Regions from separate parts of the Homo sapiens genome. Here region 1 is linked to region 2. Evidence: promoter capture Hi-C in 16 types of primary human blood cells and fetal thymus (Javierre and others, 2016). All regions are on one chromosome and are shown on one strand. The core of a region is centred on a gene start or on the middle of the fragment in contact, and the rest is flanking DNA. Distances in the headings are between cores, read along the strand shown.

The links. Contacts are between HindIII fragments. The CHiCAGO score rates a contact against its expected background, and 5 or more counts as called.
Region 1: a fragment that was not itself captured here is called in contact with the fragment with the promoter of ZBTB7C in region 2 in 1 of 17 cell types (M0 macrophages); the score reaches 7.4 in M0 macrophages.

What each region holds. Positions count from the first base shown.
Region 1 is chr18:48,227,550-48,234,056 of GRCh38, reverse strand. The region is part of intron 2 of ZBTB7C (zinc finger and BTB domain containing 7C); the gene reads left to right. Among named protein-coding and RNA genes, the nearest start is that of ZBTB7C-AS2, 21 kb to the left of the region's middle. The HindIII fragment of the contact is 1,659 bases long and covers 2,185-3,843 here.
Region 2 is chr18:48,406,498-48,412,628 of GRCh38, reverse strand. ZBTB7C (zinc finger and BTB domain containing 7C) reads left to right here and starts at 3,246. Exons shown (of 5, transcript NM_001318841.2): 1 at 3,246-3,403. RefSeq lists a silencer at 2,078-2,457 and enhancers at 3,728-4,345, 4,346-4,965. The HindIII fragment of the contact is 6,800 bases long and covers 2,409-6,131 here.

The sequences.
Region 1 (6,507 bases), core at 1,765-4,264, 180 kb after region 2:
GCTATTGGGTTGTGATCAGTGGCGCTGGAGGTTGATACATGGGAAAGGACTTTCACTGGAAAGTTTAGTGTTGGAAGGAACTGAGCGGAGATAATGACTGACTGATGTGGATGGAACTGACCCAACCACCCTCAAAGGAGAGGCCATTACCACCTGGAGAGGCTCTGAGGTGGCAAGGTTGAAATCTCATAAATGCATTTCTAGAATTTCTCGGCCTTTGGGCTTTGCCACAAGCAGCCTCCCACCCCCTGGCAGCAGCTGATATAATTTACCTAAACATTTCCCTTTATTAAAAAAGCACAGATGAATATGGGACCTATCCCAGAAACTATGAACACCCATTTAAAAACAACATGGCTCTCAACATGCAGACCTTGATTTTCAAAAGTGCTGTCGATTTGGCTTATGTTGTAGCTGCGTTTCTGAGTACAGGTGTTTCACAAGTGTCCTTAACTGCTAGGAAGCTGGGGAAAGCAGGTGGCATCCAGTCAGCTAGAACAGGGGCAGTAATGTAGGCAGTAAGATAGCACTGACTGATTCCAGCTCACCGGTCTTCCTGTTAGGATATCCACTGTTATGTATGCTCTTTGTATTCTGGCTTTCTAGCCTGACATTCAAAGCCTTTTACAATCTGAATTCACCTCATCTTAGTCCATTTTGTGCTTCTGTAAGAGAATACCAGAGACTGGATACATTATAAAGAAAAATTTATTTCTTACAGTTCTGAAGGCTGGCAAGTCCAATATCAAGGTGCTGGCATCTTGCAAGGACCTTCTTGCTGTGTCATCTCATGGAGGAAGGTGGGGGGTGAAGGGAGAGAGAGAGCGTGCGCGCGAGAGAGTGCAAACTTGTCATTTTATAATAAACCCACTCCCACAATCATGGCATTAGTCTGTTCGTGAGAGTAGAGCCCTTATGGCCTAACCACCTCTCATTAGACCCCACCTGCCAATGCTGCATTGGGAATTAAATTTCTAATATATGCTTTTGGAGGGGACATATTCAAGCCATGACATGCCTCTCCCATTCAACATCCTTACTCCCTGCCACCTCAAAACCTGTACTCTTATATACTGTTTCACCTACATGCCCTTCTTGTTTCTGTTGTTTTGCTGTTGCTTATAGCCTTCACCTCCAACACTCAACCAGGGGGTTGGTGTTGATGGTGGCATCAAGATGGCATGCTGTTTATCTGTTCTCAATGAATTGTACATCTTAACTGGGGTACTGGGATAAAACTTATGAGATGTATGCAAATGAAACTGCTGAGAATAATAACTGGCTTATGAGCAGGAGAAGCCATGGAGAATGGAAAGCCCTACTGAATTAACTAGGAGGCAGGAGACCTAAATTTTAGTTCCAGTTCAGCCACAGACTTACTGTGTATGTCTTTCAATTACTGCAAAACTAAGTACCCCAAAATTTCATGGGTTAAAATAACAATCCATTTTATTATATATCATGATTTTGTGGATCAGGAATTTGGACAGATCTTAGCTGATGATTCTTCTGTTCCAGGTGACCTTAACTGAGGTCATATGGTGGTACTTAGCTGGCAGATGGGCTGGTCTAGAGGGTCCAGGATAGTATCACTCACAAGTCTGGCATCTTGGCAGATGTGTTAGTTTCTCGGGGCTGCCATAACAAAGTATGACAAAGTAGGTGGCTTAAAACAACAGAAATGTATTTTCTGACAGTTCTAGTCTGAAATCAAGGTATTAGCTGGGCTCTCTCTTAAGGTTATAGGGAAGAATCTTTCCTTGCCTCTTCTAGCTTCTGAGGATTAGCATCAATCATCAGTGTTCTTTGGCTGATGGATGCACCACTCCAATCTTTGCCTCTATCTTCACATTGTCTCAGGATCCTTGGAGTGTTACTTTTCTGGCTGGAAACCTCTGTGGCCAGTAGTGCCTTTGCCTGAGTTTTGCTCAGGCCTCCTGGGCTCGTTTTGCCCACTCAGCCTGGCAGGCTGTGCTCAGCTGGCACTACTGGCCTGGATCCCACGCCTGCCAAGGATGAGCCAGGTGTGGAGCAGCGAGGGGTATGTGAGCAAATGAGCATGGGGTCTGGCCACTGTGCACAGCTAAGCATGCTGGCTGCAGCAGGGTGGGCAGCACCAGGCACTGGCACAGGTACCAGCTCCCTGCAAGGCTGTGCCGGGACCAGACCCTACCACAAGAAGCTTACATGGCTGGCACTGGGGAACTTGGTGGTGCCTGGAACCGCAGAGCCCTAAAGAGGGTGTCACAGCCCTGGCTCAGGGAGCTCCTTGGTCTGGGCTTCCCAAAGGGCCGCAGCTCTTCTCTCCTTCTCTCTTCTCTCCTTTTTGGTGCCTGCAATATAATGAGCAAGGGGCATGCTTCAGCCCTGTTTGTGTTAAAGCTCTTTCAGCCCCACCATCGGTGGGTCCTGAGTTCTTGTCCTGCATCCAGGAAGAATGAAGTACGTGGACAAGTGAAGGCTGAGCAAGGCAAAAAGGTGCTCTGTTAAGCAACAGAGCAGCTCAGAGGAGACCCACAGCGTGTAGTTCCTCTCCACAGGCAGGTTGGCCTGTTGTCTGCTCAGCTCTCAGCAGAGAGGAGACCCACAGTGGGTAACTGCTCTCTGCAGGCAGTTCATCCTATTATTTTCTCAGCTCTCAGTAGAGAGTACAGTGGGTAGCTCCTCTCTGCAGGCAGGTTGTCCTGTTGTCTATCCAAGTCTGGCTGAGACCAGGGTTTTTATGGGCTTCAGAGGGGAGAAAGTGCACTCTGATTGGTCTATGGGTGGCCATGGGAGGGTCCAGAAAAAGCACCATAAGTTCTCACTCTGGTCTGTGGAAATGGCAGCCTGGCCCCCAGGCCTCAGGCTGTCCCTGGCCTGAAGGTGGGGTTTCACCAGGGACCTGCACTTTTTACCCAGGAGCCTGTCTGCCTCCTGCTACCATTAACCGGCCATCCACAGTGCCAGTGCGCCCAGGCTGTTAGTGCCAAAGGTGCCTGCAAGCCTGCACCAAGCCACCCTTAGCACCCCTTCAGACTCCCTCCCGTTCTCCTTGGCACCCAAAGTCCAGAGGGGGCCGAGGCAGCAGGGGTCTGGTGTGTCAGTTCTGGCCTGAGCATGCACATACCCAGCTGGCTTGTGACAGCTCCCAGGCTTGGCCACAACTTTGCTCCAAAATCAGAGTGGGCACCAGGAGCAGGGAGAGGCCAGGCAGCGGGAGCAGGCACTTCTGAGCCTGTAGGGGCAGGGGGCTTTCCGTGCAGAGATGCCTGGGTCTGCACTCTCACTCTGCACCTTCCCCTAGCAGTGTTTGTTAACTCTTCCTCTATGGCGCCATGCTGCTGGCCTCAGGCTGCCCTTTCGCCTTGGACTATCAGTAGCTGCACAGCCCCACCCACTGGCAGCTCACATCCTTGCACCAGATGTGATGATGTCTTCACCTCTTCCCATCCTATGTCCATCCCCTTCCAGCATGTTCAATTCCATTCTCTTCAACAAACCTGAGCTGAGCACCAATTATGGCCAAAAATCTGTCCCAGGCATGGGAGCAGCACACCTGTCATGGTGCTGGGAAACTTCTAGGAAGATCCCATAGGCATCATTTTAGTTCAGTGGCTTTATTTTTTTAGGGGAAACTGAGGAGCAAGGAAAAGGAATACACAGGGATTCCGTCTGAGAGCTGTGTTTAAGCCCAACTGTCCTGTTCAGGCCTTGCTTCCAGCTCCCAACCAGCTTCCCACTGGGTTGCTTTCAGCTAGGTTGGGGCAGACATCCTGCAAACACTGCTGAAACTAGTCAGCAAGAATCCCTGAACAGGGGATAAACCTTGCTGTGTTGGGGAGAGGACTGGTGGATGAAGCTTTCAAGCCTTCTTCAGGGGAGTGTTGTTTGATGAGCCTGTAAGAAGGAATGTTGATTCCTGCACTTAGTTTCTCTTTTTGGCTAATCTGCACAAAGAAACATTAATGATTTTAATTATGGGGTTGGGTTAATACATCATGTAAATGATTTTATTTAGAAAATGCAAACTAATCCCCTTTGCAGAAAGGCTCTGCTTCGAGGCCCTCCCACCTGTTTGCCTCACTGGGCAGGAGGGAGGGAGGTGGGGGTGGCTGCCTCCCAGGCAGCCCCCTGCTTCCCGGAAAGCAGAGCCTGCCAGACAACCTGCAGGGCACATTCCCCACCACGTGGAGGCCAAAAGGAAAGCCTTGTTCCCCCTTGGCCACCCCCTCAGTGCCCCACACCTGCCCCGCTCCTTGGACTGAAGGCCTATGAGGGAGATGGACAGTCAGGAAGGCTGTCCAACTCCCCCACGTCTTCCTCGGGCCTCCCTGCAGACTCTTCGACAATTCCCGCCAACAGAGCTGATTATTCCTCAATTTGTTCCAACCTGGAAATAAAGACAGATAAAGTGAAAATATTCTGGGAACAATGCCAAGCCAAAGGCATTAAATTATTAAGCGATCTCTATCTGAGTAATGGATTTATGCCCTTTAACAACTTTAAAAGAAATATAATGTTTTTCATACCCTCTTTTAGGGAACTTCTTATAAATGAACTGTCCATTTTATTAGTATTAAAGGAAATGGGGATTGAATCAGAGCTTCTAGGGCAGGCGATTATCTGCAGATTTCTCCTTAGAGCTGGGAAAATTAACAACATGGAATTATCCACACATTTTTTTTAAAGGGCACTTTACAAGATATTGTACAGTAAATTGGAAAATGTATAACTATCCATCAAGGTAAATCTTGGGAATAAAATAATTAGAAACCACACAACCATGGCCAGGGAAGATTAGAGCTAAAATTAGACTGTGTGGCTGTTTTTTGAAGTCACCAGAGTGGGTGCTGATGGTGGAATGGGGCAGGAAGGCTGGTGGCACACAGCTCAGGCAGAATGTCGGGGTCTGGGGCAAGCTGCCTGGGCGGGCACGTGGCAGGGGGAATCTTGGCATTTTGATGAGATTTGAGCGGGACGAACATGCTGTTTTGACTGGGATCTGGCACTGTCTTGTTTTTCCGCCTCCCTTCCCATGACCCCGGCTGTCTTCACCTCCAGCCTCGCACAATCCTGCCGTGCTTATGTTTCCAGATGGTTCGAGGCTCTGTGGCTGCCACTGGAGAGCCAGCTGGAGTCCTTTTGTGAGGGAAGGAGAAGAGAGAAGGGAACAGAAATATCCTTGATGTTAAAGTCTAAAGTGAGAGTGTGTTTGTGTATGAGAGGGTGTGCACACCTGCACAAGTGGGGGCGTAAGGGTGCATGGGGGTGTGTTCATGTACGAGTGTGTATGAGCACGAGTGTGTGTGTGTGTGTGTGTGTGTGTGAGAGAGAGAGAGAGACAGAGAGAGAGAGACTCCCTCTGAGCTGAAAGGCCTCTGGTTTTTGCTTCTACTCAGAGCCTCCTGACTCCTGGCATGCAGGGAAGGGTTGTGGGCAGGCAGGGGGGCGGCAACCACAGTGGGCAAGGACTACTGCCCTTCTTCCTGCTGCAGCCTCCACCCTTGGCAGCCACTCTCAGGCTGGTGGGTGGAGCAGTGAGGAGGGGTCCTACTGGGGAGGAGGATGCAGGGGTGAGAGACAGAGAGGCCCAAGAGGATGTGCCCCACCCATCCGCAGCAAGGCCAGCAGTGCCATAACCTTCTCTCATAGCAAGGACCCAGTGCTGTCTGTGCCAGGCAGATTGCAACATCCTCCTGGCCAGAGGCAGGCTTGGGAAGGGATTTGCTCTCAGGGCTCACCCTTAACAAAATCATCTGTGGTCAGAACCAGCAATCAGTCTCGTAGTCTGCCTCTCCCATGAGGAACTGAGGCCCGCACAGGTGAAATGTGAGGATGTGAGTGGAGGACCTGTTGGTTATCACTCTTGGGACTGCTATTTATTGCCTGCAGTCATACTCTCCAGCCAGGTCCTGTCTCCCCAGCTCGGGAGCCATGCCATTGAGCATGCTTCCTGCCCCATCTAACTTGCTTAATGGCAACCTGTTCATTCAGGGAGACGCTGGAAGCATCCTCCAGGTGGGGCGGCCTCTCCATCACCTTTTTGCCCCACTCACCTCTCTCTCTTTGATGCCCATCCCTTTCCTCCCATTGCTACATTGCAGAAACACCTGCATTGGACTTTTCATATGGAATGAGAAGTTATGCTCTTTAGTGTACCACTTACCCCTTGTAACAATGTTTCACCCAAACTCCTGCCCTCTCACTCTGAGAGGGAGAGAAGGAGAGGACAAGGGGACCCTCCATGTCTGCAAAAATTATAATACCTTCCAGGCAGCCTATAATTTTTCTTTTCTTAATTTCCCAATGTTTCCTATTTCGTTGCTAGAAGGCAAAGACTAGTCCAGCAATCTCCAGTGAAAATTTTTGTGGTAAGGCAGGGTTTGGTAAAACAGGCTTCCTGTTTAGGACCTGAAAGAATTAGCAAAACTCTAAAAGGTGGTCAGTTTATTTCCTATTCACTATAGGCTTCATTACAGTAATGACAGTGTAAACAATCGTTGACACTTTTGGGGTCATTTGAAA
Region 2 (6,131 bases), core at 1,997-4,496:
CACACCATGATTTCCTTGAATTTCTCTTCTGCTCTGATTTATTCAAAGCCTCTTCCCTCTTTCTCCTCTAGAGGCAGCATCGCAGGGGAGGATGCTCGTGAACTTCTGAACTCACGAACCTGGATCCAAATGCTGCCCCTGACACTACCCAGCGGTGGCAACATGGCCATTACCACCACTATTGATATCAGATTTTTCATCTATAAAACGGTTACAACAAAATATATTGCATACAGTTGTCATGAGAAACATATAGCAATGGAAACCGTAAGTTCTAATCTAGAAAGAGCTCTGTAAATGTTAATTCCCCTCTTTTTTCTTGAATCAGTCTTTCAACATCCTCGGGAAATAGGTAAAAATTTGATCCCAATTCTCAGATAATTTATTTAGAGTTTATCACCATAACTAATATTGACAATTTACAATGTGCTCTACAGTGCTTAATACACAGTAACCCCTTAATGAATGTTGTTCATGGGGCAACACTTGCCCTCGCCTTTTCTCACCCGACCATTCCAGCATCTCTATGGAGTAGAAAGGGACCTACTATTATCTCCCTTTTTACAGATTTGGAAATGGAGGCTTTAGAGAGTTGAATGACATGCTTTTTTTCTAGGATACATGGCTGATAACTGTTAAAGTTTGGCAGTAAATTCTATTAATTATTGCAAAGCAACGTTTACCATTGCACTTACATCCAAACTAGTACGTTGCAAATAAATCTTACAGCACTCACTGGATCTCCATGCTTACGCTATTCCATGAGCTAAAGCTATAGAACATCTACTTTGAGCCAGAGAAGAGAGGAGAAACTTTCTGATTTAGAGCCACATTTATATTAGAGTCTATTTACTATTTACTAGACTCTTTACTATTAGAGTCTAATTTACTGCCCACATCCCTCTTTTCTCAACCTAAATGCCCTTTTTATGGCTGTAGCTGCCCTCACCCCCAGAACTACATTTCTATTTCCTGCAGGTGTCTGGGCATTTGCAGGGCTGGGATCCTCTAGGTGCTCTCTAAATGCATCCGCATGCTTGGCATGAGGCGCAGCCAGACTTATGGCTTAGAAGCGGGGCCATATCAGCTGGGTCAGCAGCATTCCAAGTAACTGAAAACCCTTTAATGAAGGGAAGCAAGACAGGCAACTTAATTTAACAGAGAGACAAACCTAATATGAGAGGGCAGTGGCTGCCACAGCTGCTGAAAGCGAGATATATTATTTTGCCATTCTGGAAGCTTTAGCAACTTGGAAATCTGACATCCTGAGCCTGAACATACCTTAGGTTCCACGATAGACTATCCTAGATTTACATGTGCATTTGAATAGTTTGGATAAGATGGCTGTCCAAACTGTTCATTTGGTGAAATTTACTTAGTAGGAAAAACCAGATCTCTTTGGCAAATTAAACGTGACATAATTGTACCCAAACCCTACGTTTCAGATCCCTCTATTCATATCTAGTTTTCCACTCTTACATCCTATTCCAGAGCCCGTTTTCCCTTGTTTTCACTACTCCCAACGTACTATCTTGCAATGTGCGTTTATTACACGAATGAATGAAATGGTTTAAAAAAAAATCCCAATAAGTGATATTAGGAAGAGGCACCAAAGGTTCACAAACTTATTTTTGTGAATTCTGTAAAAAATGTCATCCAGTGTCTTCAGCATTAAAGGACACAGCAGCAGCCCCACTGCCCTTTTATTAATCCGTAGCCAGAATGGGCACTAGGCGGCCGGGATTCGCCATCTCGCCTCTCCTGGGCGCCAGGTGCGCCTCAGATAAGCGCAGCCGGGTAGGAGTTTGAGGACGACAAACTTTCCCGCTTCTGAGGGAGGAGCCCCGGAGAGGACCCGCTGACGTGCGAGGGTGCTGCCTCCGATGTACTACCAAGGAGGGCGAGGGTTCCTATGTCTGTCTGGAGCGCAGAGGGGTGGACTGCAAAAAGGTAGGAGGCAAAGCCAGCTCGAGTTTCCCCGGCCCGTAGCTGGAGGGAACATCTGCCCAAGTGTCGCCTCGCCCGAGAACGCTCACGCCCTCTCCAGGGCCAGGACCCTTCCTCCTCCCCTCGCACTGGCCCTTCGTGGCTTCCAGCACCGCTGAGCACTCGGCGTCCCAGCGAGATTCTCCTGCCCCGACAGACTCCGAGGGGGCGGGGCCCGGCGGGACGGGGCGGGGACAAGCCCTCCCCGGGCCCGCCCGTTGGCATTGTTGCGCGGTGATTGGACGCTTCGGAAGGCCGCCTTCCAGGCCGACCCGGGGAGTGACGGGCGGCCAGCGGCTGCTCCCCGGCGTGTGGGGTGCGGAGTGCGGGGCCCAAGGCTCCAGAGGGGTGGGGACTCCGGGCCGCAGCGCCGCCGAGCGCGATTGCCCGCTGAGATTCGGCGCCCCGGGGTGCGGCAAGCTTGCGGTTTCAGGTGCTGGCTAGGCGTCTTGGTGCGCTCGCTGGAGTGCCGAGAGCATTTGGGAAACTTAACTTCTCGCCCCCACTCCTTGCTCCCGACTTTCGGGTAGAAAAGCAGTTGCCGAGTTGTTTTATTTCCTCCCCCATCGGACTCTGTAAAAATAGCCGTGCGCCGGGGCGGCAGAGCCCATCTCTGCCGCACCGCTGCCCCGGGTCGGCAGAGCCCATCTCTGCCGCACCGCTGCCCCGGGTCGGGTGTGGACCTAAAAATACCCGGCGGTCCCAAGCCTGCGCTGGGGGTGCGGGCGGGTCCGGCCGGGCCGCAGAGGGCGTCAGGAGACCGGAGAAACGGCGGCCGCCTGGCCCCCTCGCCTCTGCCGGGGCTGTCCCTTTAAATCCTGGAGGAGGCAGAGAGAAAAAAGGAAAGAAAGAGAAAAGACGCGGAGCCCCGAGCGGTTGGTGGCGGTGCCCGGCCCCCCCACTCCGCCTCCGCGTCGGGTCCTGACTCCCGCCCGCAGCCTCCGCCAGTCCCGGGCGCCCCCCGCCGCGCCGCCCACTCGCCACAGTTACTGTCAAAATAGAAATTAGCGGAGCCGGGCGGGGGCTGCGGCGCAGCAAGTGCATGTGCCGCGCGGCGGGGAGGGGGCGGGCGCGAGCGACAGGCGACCGCACACATCCGGGCCCTTTAGCCCTGTGCGCCCCCCGAGCCGGCGGCGCGGGCGCGGGGCGCGGGGCGCGGGGCTGACAGCCGCGGCGCGGGAGGCGGGGCGCGGGGAGGGCGGAGGCGCGGCGCGGGGAGGGAGGAGCTGCCCGCTCGCCCGCTGCCGCCGCTCAGCTCCATACCCGCCGGCGCAGCCCCGCCACGAGACTCTGACAGCGGCGCGGCCGGCGAGGCTCGGGCGCGCAGGGACCGGCGGACACCGGCGGCGAAGGAGGACGCCAGGACTGCGTCCCGGAGCCAAGTGCGGGAGGCGCGCAGGGCCGGCGGCGCGCGGAGGTGAGCGGCTTCGCGCGCCGGGCTCGGGCGCCGGCTGCCGGGGTCGCGATCTCCACAGCACCTCGGCAGCCGAGGCAGTTCGGGAGGTCGCGGGGCGGCGGGCGGGTGGCTTTGCTTGGGCTGCGCCGGAAAGCGATTGCGGGGGCCGTTGCTAGGAGGCCGGCGGTCCGCGCGCCTTGGGGCGCCGGCTGGAGCAGGGGCGCCCTCCGCGCGGTGGGCAGGAGGCGGGGGGCTGCGGTGGCTATTCAGGGGCTCCGTGCGGCAGCCATGCAACGGAGGAGGCGGGAGGAGGGAGGGAGGGAAGGAGGGAGGGGAGAGCCAGCGGAGAGCGAGCCAGCGAGCGGGCGCCGCGCCTCCTGGCTGGCACCGCGGCCCGGAGCGAAGTGGCGCGCGGGGCTGGAAAGGAACTTCTGCGGGCGCGTGCGGCCCGGGGCTCGGCGGCGCCTGCGGGCCCGAGCGGGGCGGGCCCGTCGGCAGCCACAGGTGGTTTCTGCCAAAAGTTTTACCGCACTTCTGCCTGGAAGGCGCGGGAGCGTTTTGGTGAGTGACGTTTTCCTGGGACTTTTGCAGTCTCACTTCGCGCTGTCTTTTCTTGAAAATTGGAAAATGAGCTGGAAAGGCTGGGATCCAGCACCTCTCGATGAGATCTGAGCAGAGTACAGTCCTTGCCCGAGGTGTCGCTCATGCAGGACTCAAAGATCCTTGCTGCTGTCAAGTCGGGAAGCTGGGGGAAATGGGCGCACGCACACAGTTCCTCCAAGCCTCGGACAAGTGAAGCCGAGCCTGGCCCGGTGCCTGTCGCCGCGCGGGGTAGTGCGAGGTCTGTTCCCAGCGACACGCACGGGAACTGCGTGCGTCTTCTCTCAAGGTGTGTACGTCTCTTGCTCCGTTGAAAGCGAATTGTCTCTGGCCGCTGTGCTGCTTTGTTTTTCCGGTTGCTTGTCTGGTTTTACTAGGATGAAGGCCAGGAGGAGCCAAAGAAAAGCGAAGCGGCAGCTCCCGTTATCTTTGCAATCTGCAAAGCTGTGGAGGCTGGTACCCAACCTTCCGCGGCGCGGGCGCAAGGCCGAGGGGAGCTGGGGGTGGGTGGCGTGCGCTGCCTGTATGGGAAGTCTCGCTGGACCATGCGCAAGGCTAGAGCCGGAGTTTCTGGTGCTTCTAGGACAGAAAGAGGAGTGGGAGTGGGAAGGGAAGACCCCTTAAAAGAAGATATACTGTGCCCAGACCTGGGAGAGAGGCTCCGAGAAGTCCGGTGGCTTGGCCCTGTTCTTCATTGGCGGGGTTGAGGAATCCAGGGCAGCGAGGTAGAAACACCTCGGTAGGTCGTCCTGGGCTGAAAGAAATCATTATTCCCAGAGCGGGCCAGATACCCGGGTGTTGAAACTAGGTACAAAACTGCGTGAGAGGTGGAAACTCTCAGTCCTTCATTCTCCTTGGTCCGGTGGCTCCCGCTCCCTGCCCCCACAAGTACATGAGCAAAAAGCATGCCCTTTGCTTTATAGAAGGTCATAGGATTTTGAAGTTGAAAGAGACCCTAGAGATATTAGGAGCACTCATTTTACAGATGAGCAAACTCAGGCCCAAGGAAGGAAAGTGACCTGCTACAGTGGCTAGAGGCCCAGTGAGACTAGAAATGACATCAGCCTTCCAGGCAAGGGTGGAGAGACTTCCCTGGGCAAGGCCTGGTAGGGCTTGAGATCAGAAATGCCACCCCCACACCCCAAGCCCATCATGGCCTCTTTATCTGGTACTTTCTAAATCCATGCTTGCCAGCGAATGTGGTATATTTCCCGTCCCGTGCCCTTGGCTTAAAAAAACCAGGACTGTCACTGCAAAGTCCAGTCTGACACTATCCCAACTTTTCCTGCTCCCTCATTATCCCAAATTCCTCAAACTCCTTTTGTAACACAATGCAGCTTGATTAGCCAAGAAGAATTTGCAGCTTTTTTTCACTGAAGCACCCACTTTCCATAGGATGCCAGAACTCTGTTTTCCTGGTAATTAGATTTTACAGATATTTTTGAAAGGGAGCCCAATTTTGGATCAATTACACTTGGACACAAATGCTGTGCTGTTGTGGATACCAAATGAGAAAGATGAGCAATTATCTGGGGGTGTTGGAATAAATGTTGTTATGAGTATTTGACACAGCCATTAAACATCAATGAGTGGGTTTTCAGTAAATGTTTTTTACTCTGTATTTTATTGAGCAAACAAAGTGTCTAAATTAAAAAAGAACTACGAGTTGGCCACTTTGATTTTAGCCACTTATTTTGTACCAGTGTGTATGAGCAGGAAGGAATTGAATGATAACCAGAGTGATTGTTATGTGAACTTTTTCCTCCAAAACCATAATACTCTAGGGCGATGCTAGATTTCAGTCTATAATGTCATATACAGTCCAGCAGAATTTTATGAAAATAAGCTGGATGCAATGTGTGTCAATCTGTATTAGTCAGAAATGACTTGCAAGAGAGAATATTTTGTAAGTTTGATTGCTTTCAAGGACACAGAGTATCAAGAATTCAAGGCTAGTGCAGAGTTGCCGGGTATAATTCTTCTGCTTTCATGAACAGATAGAAATCAGTGCCCCCTTACTCCACATCTCCTGTGTTTAGGGGTCCTACAGAAGAAGTCAATGTCTGATATTCTGATAATAATACAGTGTTACGATGCCTTTCACTTTTTTTGCATGCTAATCTCATCAGCATTCCCACAAGATAGATAG